3 separate regions of the Homo sapiens genome follow, and regions 1 and 3 are each linked to region 2. The links are contacts of gene promoters, found by promoter capture Hi-C in blood cells and fetal thymus (Javierre and others, 2016). All regions are on one chromosome and are shown on one strand. The core of a region is centred on a gene start or on the middle of the fragment in contact, and the rest is flanking DNA. Distances in the headings are between cores, read along the strand shown.

Region 1 (2,700 bases), core at 13-2,512, 510 kb before region 2:
GTATAAAGAACTATGAATTCTGAGTTAACCTAAAAGTAAAGCTCCTTAGCATATTCTTGATTGCATAAAGATAGTTTTTATAATTGTGAAAACTTTAAGGCACTTTGGAGAGGAAGCACTAAATAAAGAATGATCTCCATCACAGAGGGCACAGTTTCAAGGAAGTTCACAATAAAAAAAAAAAGTCAATTTTGTTCCCACTTATAAGTGGGAGCTGGATGATGAGAACACAAGAACATATAGAGGGGAAAAACAGACACTGGAGCCTATCGGAGGGTGGATGGTAAATGGAGAGAGAGGCAGGAAAAATAACTAATGGGTACTAGGCTCCGTACTTGAGTGATTGATATGGTTTGGCTGTGTCCCCACCCAAATCTCATCTTGAATTGTAGCTCCCATAATCCCCTTGTGTGTTGGGAGGGACCAAGTGGGAAGTAATAGAACCATGGGGCCGTTTTTCCCATGCCGTTCTCATGATAGTGAATAAGTCTCATGAGATCTGATGGTCTTACAAAGGGCAGTTCCCCTGCACATGCTCTGTTGCATGGTGCTATGTAAGACGTGCCTTTGCTCCTCCTTTCCCTTCTGCCATGATTGTGAGGCCCCTCCAGCCATATGGAACTGTGAGTCCATTAAGCCTCTTTTACTTTATAAATGACCCAGTATTTCTCCTAGCAGTATGAAAATGGCCTAACACAGTGATGAAATACTGCATACAGCAAACCCCCATGACACATGTTCACCTAAACAACGATCCCACACATGTACCCTGACTTAATGCCAACATCTAGTTTCTTTCAAAGTAATTGAAAATTCTTTCAAAGAATTTCTTTCAAAGAAATTGTTAAATTTTCACATAAATACTAGAATGTTCAAAATTAGTCATTTCAAACAACACTAATTTCAGATGATCCCTTTTATTTAGATGTCTTGCAACTATTTCTCTTTATCTAAAATTGCATAGTCTTATATCTGCCTGTTTTTTAATAATTGTACTTAAAATATAGTTACATTTTTAAAATAAATATAACTTGGAGAGACCCGAGGTACTTGATATTGTCTACACACATTCATTATCAATTCTTTACAAATTCTGCAGCCACCATCAGAATTCTTAGGCTTCCTCTTTTGGAAGCTGTCAATTCTTCAATATTAACATGTAATTTATGTATGACCCATTCCAGTGCTTCTCAGCCTTTATTAGCATTTGAAGATACTGTTCTTGCCACCGGTTTTTTCAAGGTATCTGCTGAGGCTCCTTCCTTTCACTACTTACAGCTTCTTGAGGCAAACTAGTTTTTTTCTGTGTCCTGATGATGTGGTTTGTGTATATCTCTCATCTACTAAAACCATATTTGTAAATGAAATATTCGTAGATTTAAGTTCCATTGTTTTCTCTATAGGATTAACTACAGAATATTCTAGTACATGTTTTGGTTCTTGCTGTACCAATAAGAGACTTCACAATGGAAGGCAGTTCCTACTCTTGGTGGAGAAGTCTGTGGTTGTGCAACTCTCCAGAGGGATCTATGTCTGTCCAGTACACCAACCCCAGCCATGCTCATGTTCATAGGGTTTGGGCATTTGTGCATTCCAATTGTTGTAACAGTTTCCTATGAGTGGTCAAAGTCATGCTCTGAAGTCCAGATTATGATGGAGCAGGCAGCCTTAGAGATGTCGGGGCAGTGCAGGATAAATGAGACAAAGAGGCTACACCTGCCCCACCTGACTCCCAGCATCCCAGCCAGCTTCACTGTGTGCCATCAACCCCACGTGAAGGGCATCCCAACCTCCTCCTTCACCACTTATTATTATACGATGTAACTTATAAACAATTTAAAGCAGGGGTCTCAATCCCCCAGAAACAGACTAATACCAGCCTGTGGACTAATAGGAACCAGGCCACACAGGAGGAGGTGAGCAGCAGGCAAGAAAGCATTACTGCCTGGGCTCTGCCTCCTGTCAGATCAACTATGGCATTAGATTCTCATAGGAGCACCAACCTTAATGTGAACTGGCACTGCAAGGGATCTACCTTGCATGCTCCTCATAAGAATCTAATGCCTGAAGATCTGAGGTGGAACAGTTTCATCATAAAACATCCCCCCAACCCTTACCAGCCATCCATGGAAAAATTGCCTTCCACGCAACAAATCCCTGGTGCCAGAAAGGTTGGGGAGCTCGATTTAAAGAACATTATTAATGTCTGTTTCCTGCCTTCATCTGGGAGGTCACAGTCAGCTTCGAAACTCCAGCAAGTGATCCACCCAGCTGTCCCCTCCCACCTTGTTAGTATCCACAGCTCCTGAAAGGCCCCCTGGGATTTAGACTAAAGCATGATCGTACCATTGCATGCCAGCCTGGGCAAAAAAGTGAGACCCCACCTCAAAAGAAAAAAAAAAAAGGAAAAAGAAGAAGGAAAAAAAAGCTCTGAGTTGGATCCCTGCCCCCTTTCTGTCAGCTTTGGGCCCATCTATACCAATCTTGATTTACCGGTCTTGATTTCACAGGTGGAAAATAAGGAAAAGGCTTTAAACAATGTGTATAATTTCAATAAAAGAACCATCACAATTTTAAGCAGATCTAAAAGAAGGGTTCCTTAGCACACTGCATATTATTCATTCCATGAAGAGAGTTTTTCTAAATGAAAAATGTTCAGGACGTTCAGGAGAGGAAGAACAAATTAAAGAATGATCTCCA
Region 2 (2,700 bases), core at 151-2,650:
TGGGAGTCCCTAAGCAAATGCCTGCAGGGACCAGGCAGTTAATACAGCAAACTTCAGAGGCTCATCTGCTTTAGCCAGTTCTTGCCATGGTATGGTGGAATCATTGTTGCCACATCTGATTTCTCAAGAGAAGCTTTAAAATCCAATTTGTATGTGTGTATGTATGAGTATGTACATGAGAAAGCTTTCAGTTTTAAAATGTTGGCTCAGATTTTTAAAAAGCAGACCAAAGACTTATATTCCACCTCTGCTCTAGACTTAGAGAATCTGTTCAGGATAAAGCTTAAAGAAAAGATGACAATGGAAAAGAGTCATTGGTCAAGTATTAAGTACTGACACTTAGGGTTTCCTGAATATAGTAGTGAGTGCTACTTTAGAAGAGATTCCCTCTAGTTCAAATGCAGTTACAATCTCCAAATACATGCTAGCAACTCACGATTTAAATTCTCTTTGACATAATTTGTATGGTTCAATCTCCCTCATCCTGCTTTTCTTCTTTTTCTTTCTTTCCTTTCCTTTCTTCCTTTCCTTCTCTTTCCCCTCCCCTCCCCTCTTTTTGTTTTTAACAGATGGGGTTTTACTATGTTGCCCAAGCTGGAGTGCAGTGGCAATTCAGAGTGCAGTGGCAATTCACAGTGTGATCATAGCTCACTGCAATCTTGAATTCCTGGCCTGAAGCTATCCTCCAGCCGTAGCCTCCCAAGTAGGTGGGAATACAGGCATGCACCACTGTGCTCAGCTCTGCCCTCCCTTTTTAAAGGTCAGACTGAAGTTTCAGTTTTCTGTATCCATAGAGCTGACTTTGCTCAGGAAATTTACAACTTACCTAATTTGAACGCAGCTGGCCAAGTCTGTATTTCCCTCCAGGAATGTGCACAGTTGTGTTCAGACCGTTTAGCAGGTTGGGGTGTGGAGGAAGACAGATGAATAGTAGGGGCTTTACTCCAGCCTCTAGCTGGGGATTTTCTAAGATACTGTCTTCAGAAAAGGAAACATAGCTCGAAGTTGTACCTACATGGAAGGACCTCATCCTCCAGGTGGCAAAAATTTGTAGTATGCCTGTTAGAATGAGGTTCCTTCCTGAAACTTCTGGGAGATCTAGAATTTAAAGCTATGTCATTCTCTTGTAGGTAATCAGAAATCAATTGGAAATTCCTGCTTGAAGAGATAGATATTCTTGCCCCACCTCAATCCTTCCAGCACAGATTTGGGAGATACCCCCCTTTCCAGTGAAGGCCTAAGTGTCCAGTGCCCCCACTCACCTTCTGAGGCATGTAGGGCCGCACAGACAGCCAAGGCCACGATGGCGAGTCCTCTCTGCTGCATTCCTGCCTGCCCTACTGGCACTGACAGCAACACAAGTGAGGCTGTTCGATCAGGAAATGAGGCTAAAGGTGTCCTTGGGCACAGAGAAAGTGCAGAGGAAAAGTAAGCCAGGTGGCCCCGCCCTGGGAGGTGTTCAGGGTATCTATTTCTCATGTTTCTTTCCTTAAGACCAGGCTCCTCCTCGACTTATTAAGCTCCTAACTTGTGTTCATCCTGCCTGGGGGTCAGGGGATGTCAATGGAGATCTGGCAGCTGGCAGGGTCACTGTGAGGTGGGGTGTGCATCAGAATCATTTGGGGAACATTAAAAAAAATCAATCTAAATGACTCTCCCCTTTCCCTGATTTGTAAACCAGAACTCCCAGGTAGGAGACCAGTCATTTGAATTTTGTAAAAGCTCTATAGGTGATTCTGATGGACACTTATGTTGAGACCCATTGCATAATCAGTTTTTAAGTAGCTTATGGAAACCATGAGTTTCTGGGGACAAGGGTGACAAGTCATAAAAAATGTATCTTTGTGGAAAGATATGGAAGTATTAAACCCCACTTTAGTCTTGGTTCACAGCCAAATTGTTTCCAGTGAAGCTTTTTACAATAGCTTATTTAGGAGAAAGACAGGAAGGGGGGCAATGCCTTGTAGAAAAGAGCCCAAGAGCAGGTGTGAAGAGGCATGAGCGCTAGTGCAGCTTTGCTGCCAATCAGCTTTGTGAATAAAAGCATGGGGTAGCATGAAGATAATTGGATTCTAATTGTTCCTCATCTACTAATAAGTTGTATAACCTCAGGCAACGTACTTAACTTTGCTGTAAATAACAAGTCAGACTAGATGACCTCCAAAGTCATGCCATGCTTCCTCTAGAACTGTGTTGTCCTATGTGGTAGCCGCTAGCCCACATGTGGCTCTTGAGCACTTGAAATATGAGTAGTCCAAACTCAGATGTACTATGGGTATAAAATTCACACTGGATTTCAAAGACTGGGTACAGAAAAAAATATAAAATATCTTGTTAATAATGTTTATACTGTTTATTGATTACATGATAGTATTTTGGACTTTTTGGGTTAAATAAAATATATTATTAAAATTAATTTCACCCATTTCTTTTTATGTTTTCAAATTACTGCTGTGGTTTGAATATTTTTTTCTTCTCCAAAGCTCATGTTGAAAATTAATCCCTAATAGTGCTGGGAGATAGGGCCTAATGGACAATGTTTAGGTTATGATGGCTCCACCCTCATGAATGGATGAATGCTACTATAAAAAGGGCTTGTGGGAATGGGTTGGTACCTTCTGCTCTTCTGCCAGGTGAGTACACAATGCTCCTTCTCTCCAAAAGATGCAGCAAAGTGGCATCATCTTGGAAATAGAAACT
Region 3 (2,700 bases), core at 6-2,505, 530 kb before region 2:
TTAACTTTTTAATATATATTGAGTCACTATAAGCTTATAGTTATAATTCTGCCAATTTCCTTGAGAATTGTGTTTTCAGTTAAGTTCCCAAACAAACAAGTGTTTTAACAGACACTTGGGCTAAGAGATTGGCTAGTAGTTCTTTTTGTAAGTTGAGAATTTTAATGAGGTTAAAATATAAATTTAAAACTGTTTCATCTCTGCATGAATAAATGGACTTACTCTTCCACCATTTTATAGTGATGGTAAACAATGATAGCATGTTGATTTATTCAGAATTTGTAGTGTAAATTTCTACTGCGTAAAGTATACACACAATTTGTAAAAATTAAGGATAAAGAGGACTAATGGAGTAGCCATCTTCCTTCCCCTCCTCCTATATGCCCAAAGTAATTTAGAGTTGATTTGAAGCCACTTCTCTAGCAATTGGACTTGCATAGAATCGTGGGGGTTCACACATCACCAGCCCAGGAAACTTCAGGCTGTCCTTTGTTACTCTGTTTACTGAAATTGACATATCAGCAAGTTCAAAATTATCCTGAATAGTAGTTTTGGCATGTTCTACCTCTGGACCAGTGATAACTGTAGTCAGTGTATAATCCTTCCTGTTCAAATGGCCACACAGATTTCCTTAATGGCTTGACCTGCCAAGAGCTGGAGGCCTTAATCATCCCAGGAAAGAGGATGCCAAATACGGAGGATTTTAATTACTCTCATTTTCTTGGAGGAAAATCTCTTACAATCTTTGAAATATATTGCTTAGAACATTCCATATCTGAAAAGTAATGTTTTCTGTTAGCATCTATTGTGCAATTGGCTATAATGTGTTTACTTAAGAAAATATGGAGATGGCTTTTAACTAATTCAAAAACACAGTAAGACAGGGTATGTACACAATATTACATTTACTTAGTATGACAGTAAAGAATCCTTGTTCCCTTTTCTGGGACTTTGAGTTTAGCTCAACAAGATGGTTGCTACATAACTGTTTGAAATATTGATGCCATATAATTTTTAAAAATAGTTTTAAAGGGTGATTTGTTTTGTATTTCCTTGAACTCAAACCCTGAGACAAGGACTAGGTGCAAGCAGTTTATTTAAAAAGATCTACTAGGGAACCAGGTCAAGGGAGCTTGGAGAGGGACATGAGGAAGCAGGGAGAGCTCATGTAAGGATGCATTACTGAGGTCCCTGCCATCAGCAATGGAGATTCAATTCTGCTGGGACTTCTGAGTGGTGTACAGACTTTCTCTGAATGGTTCACCTGAAAGATGGAAGGCGGAGCAAATACTCCAACACCATTCTCCCAAGGGTTGGTCTCAAGGGCTTTAACCCCTGGCACTTCTGATCTGCTCTTGCACAAGCCAAAGATGTTCCCAGGGCCTGGGAGATGGCCTGGGGCAGAATGTGGAAAGACAAAAAGCAGGAGCCTCTTTTATTTTATATTTTATTTTGTGATAAGAGCATTTAGGATCTATGCTCTTAGAAAATTAGGTATTCAATACAGTATCTTTAACTACAGGTGCTATGCTGTACAGTAGGTCTCTAGGACTTATTTATCTTATATAACTGAAATTGTGTGCCCTTTGACCAACATCTTCCCTCTAGCGGACAGCTTGACTGCAAACTCATGACAGAATGTGGCCAAAACTACCCAGCTAAGCCACTCAGGTATTCCTGACACTGAGAAACTATAGGATATAATAGATTTTTTGTTGTTTTACGCTGTTGAGGGTAATTTATTTTGCAGCAATTGATAACCAATAGACTGTCCATATAAAGTAGAATATTGTGTGGTAATAAAATATCAGATTTTCAAAGAATTTTTGAGGATATGAAAAAGTGATGAGTATACAACATTAAGTGAAAACAGCAGGAAGCAGAACTATGTAGTGCGTGTTAATCACATCTGTTATTTTCTTCTGATCAGCAGATGTCTTTCCCCTCCTTCTTCTGCTAATAGAACTTCCCTTTCCTATGGGAAAAACATCTCACGTGTTTCAAGTGGTGCTTTGACTCCAACCCACATAGGTCAAAAACGTTAATTAGATTAAATTAAGGTAACTCATTTCCTTGGTACATCATGAAAGACAGGCTAATGAAAACAAGTCCTGGACCTTTTCTTCCTAGAACTTGGTTAAGGAAAAGAAAGGCCTTAACTCCCAAATAAAGATGGTGAAGATATCAGACACCCTAGGTTGAGTAGTTATTAAAGTCAGAACCAGCTTTAGACTTCTCAGTCATAAGCCAATAAACTCTGTTTGCTTAAGCTAATTGGGCTTGGGGTTCTGCCTGAATACAAATACAATATACAATATCATCCCATAATTGTATATAAAATGAATAAATAAAATTATTCACAAAGAATAATTTGGGGTAAATCTACCAAACGTTATCACTAGTTCTAGCTAGATTTCATATTATTGAACTTGCCATATCAGAAATTTTTAAAACAAAACTTCTTAGCCCTCACAGTTGGAAGCTTTGACTCAGTAGTTCTGGATTACAGACTAGATCTTTTATTGAATATTTCTATGTGTTTGTGAGTTTTCCAAAATTTCTCTTGATTTCTAGTTTTATATCATTCTGTTCAAAAAAGATATTTGATATGATTTCAATCTTCTTAAATTTGTTAAGACATATTTTGTGGCATATATGATTACATATTATCTGTCCTGGAGAATGTTCCTTTTGTGCTTA

Evidence for each region. The method cuts DNA at HindIII sites, captures the fragments that hold promoters and counts their contacts. A CHiCAGO score of 5 or more calls a contact.
Region 1: a fragment that was not itself captured here is called in contact with the fragment with the promoter of CCL28 in region 2 in 1 of 17 cell types (naive CD4 T cells); the score reaches 6.5 in naive CD4 T cells.
Region 3: a contact is called between a fragment that was not itself captured here and the fragment with the promoter of CCL28 in region 2, in 4 of 17 cell types (naive CD4 T cells, activated CD4 T cells, non-activated CD4 T cells and 1 more). The highest score is 6.3, in naive CD4 T cells.

What each region holds. Positions count from the first base shown.
Region 1 is chr5:42,896,182-42,898,881 of GRCh38, forward strand. It overlaps the pseudogene PRELID3BP4. Among named protein-coding and RNA genes, the nearest start is that of SELENOP, 86 kb to the left of the region's middle. The HindIII fragment of the contact is 4,195 bases long and covers 1-2,700 here.
Region 2 is chr5:43,410,991-43,413,690 of GRCh38, forward strand. CCL28 (C-C motif chemokine ligand 28) reads right to left here and starts at 1,401. Exons shown (of 3, transcript NM_148672.3): 1 at 1,263-1,401. The coding sequence starts at 1,326. The HindIII fragment of the contact is 1,630 bases long and covers 281-1,910 here.
Region 3 is chr5:42,880,016-42,882,715 of GRCh38, forward strand. No RefSeq gene overlaps it. Among named protein-coding and RNA genes, the nearest start is that of SELENOP, 69 kb to the left of the region's middle. The HindIII fragment of the contact is 2,449 bases long and covers 32-2,480 here.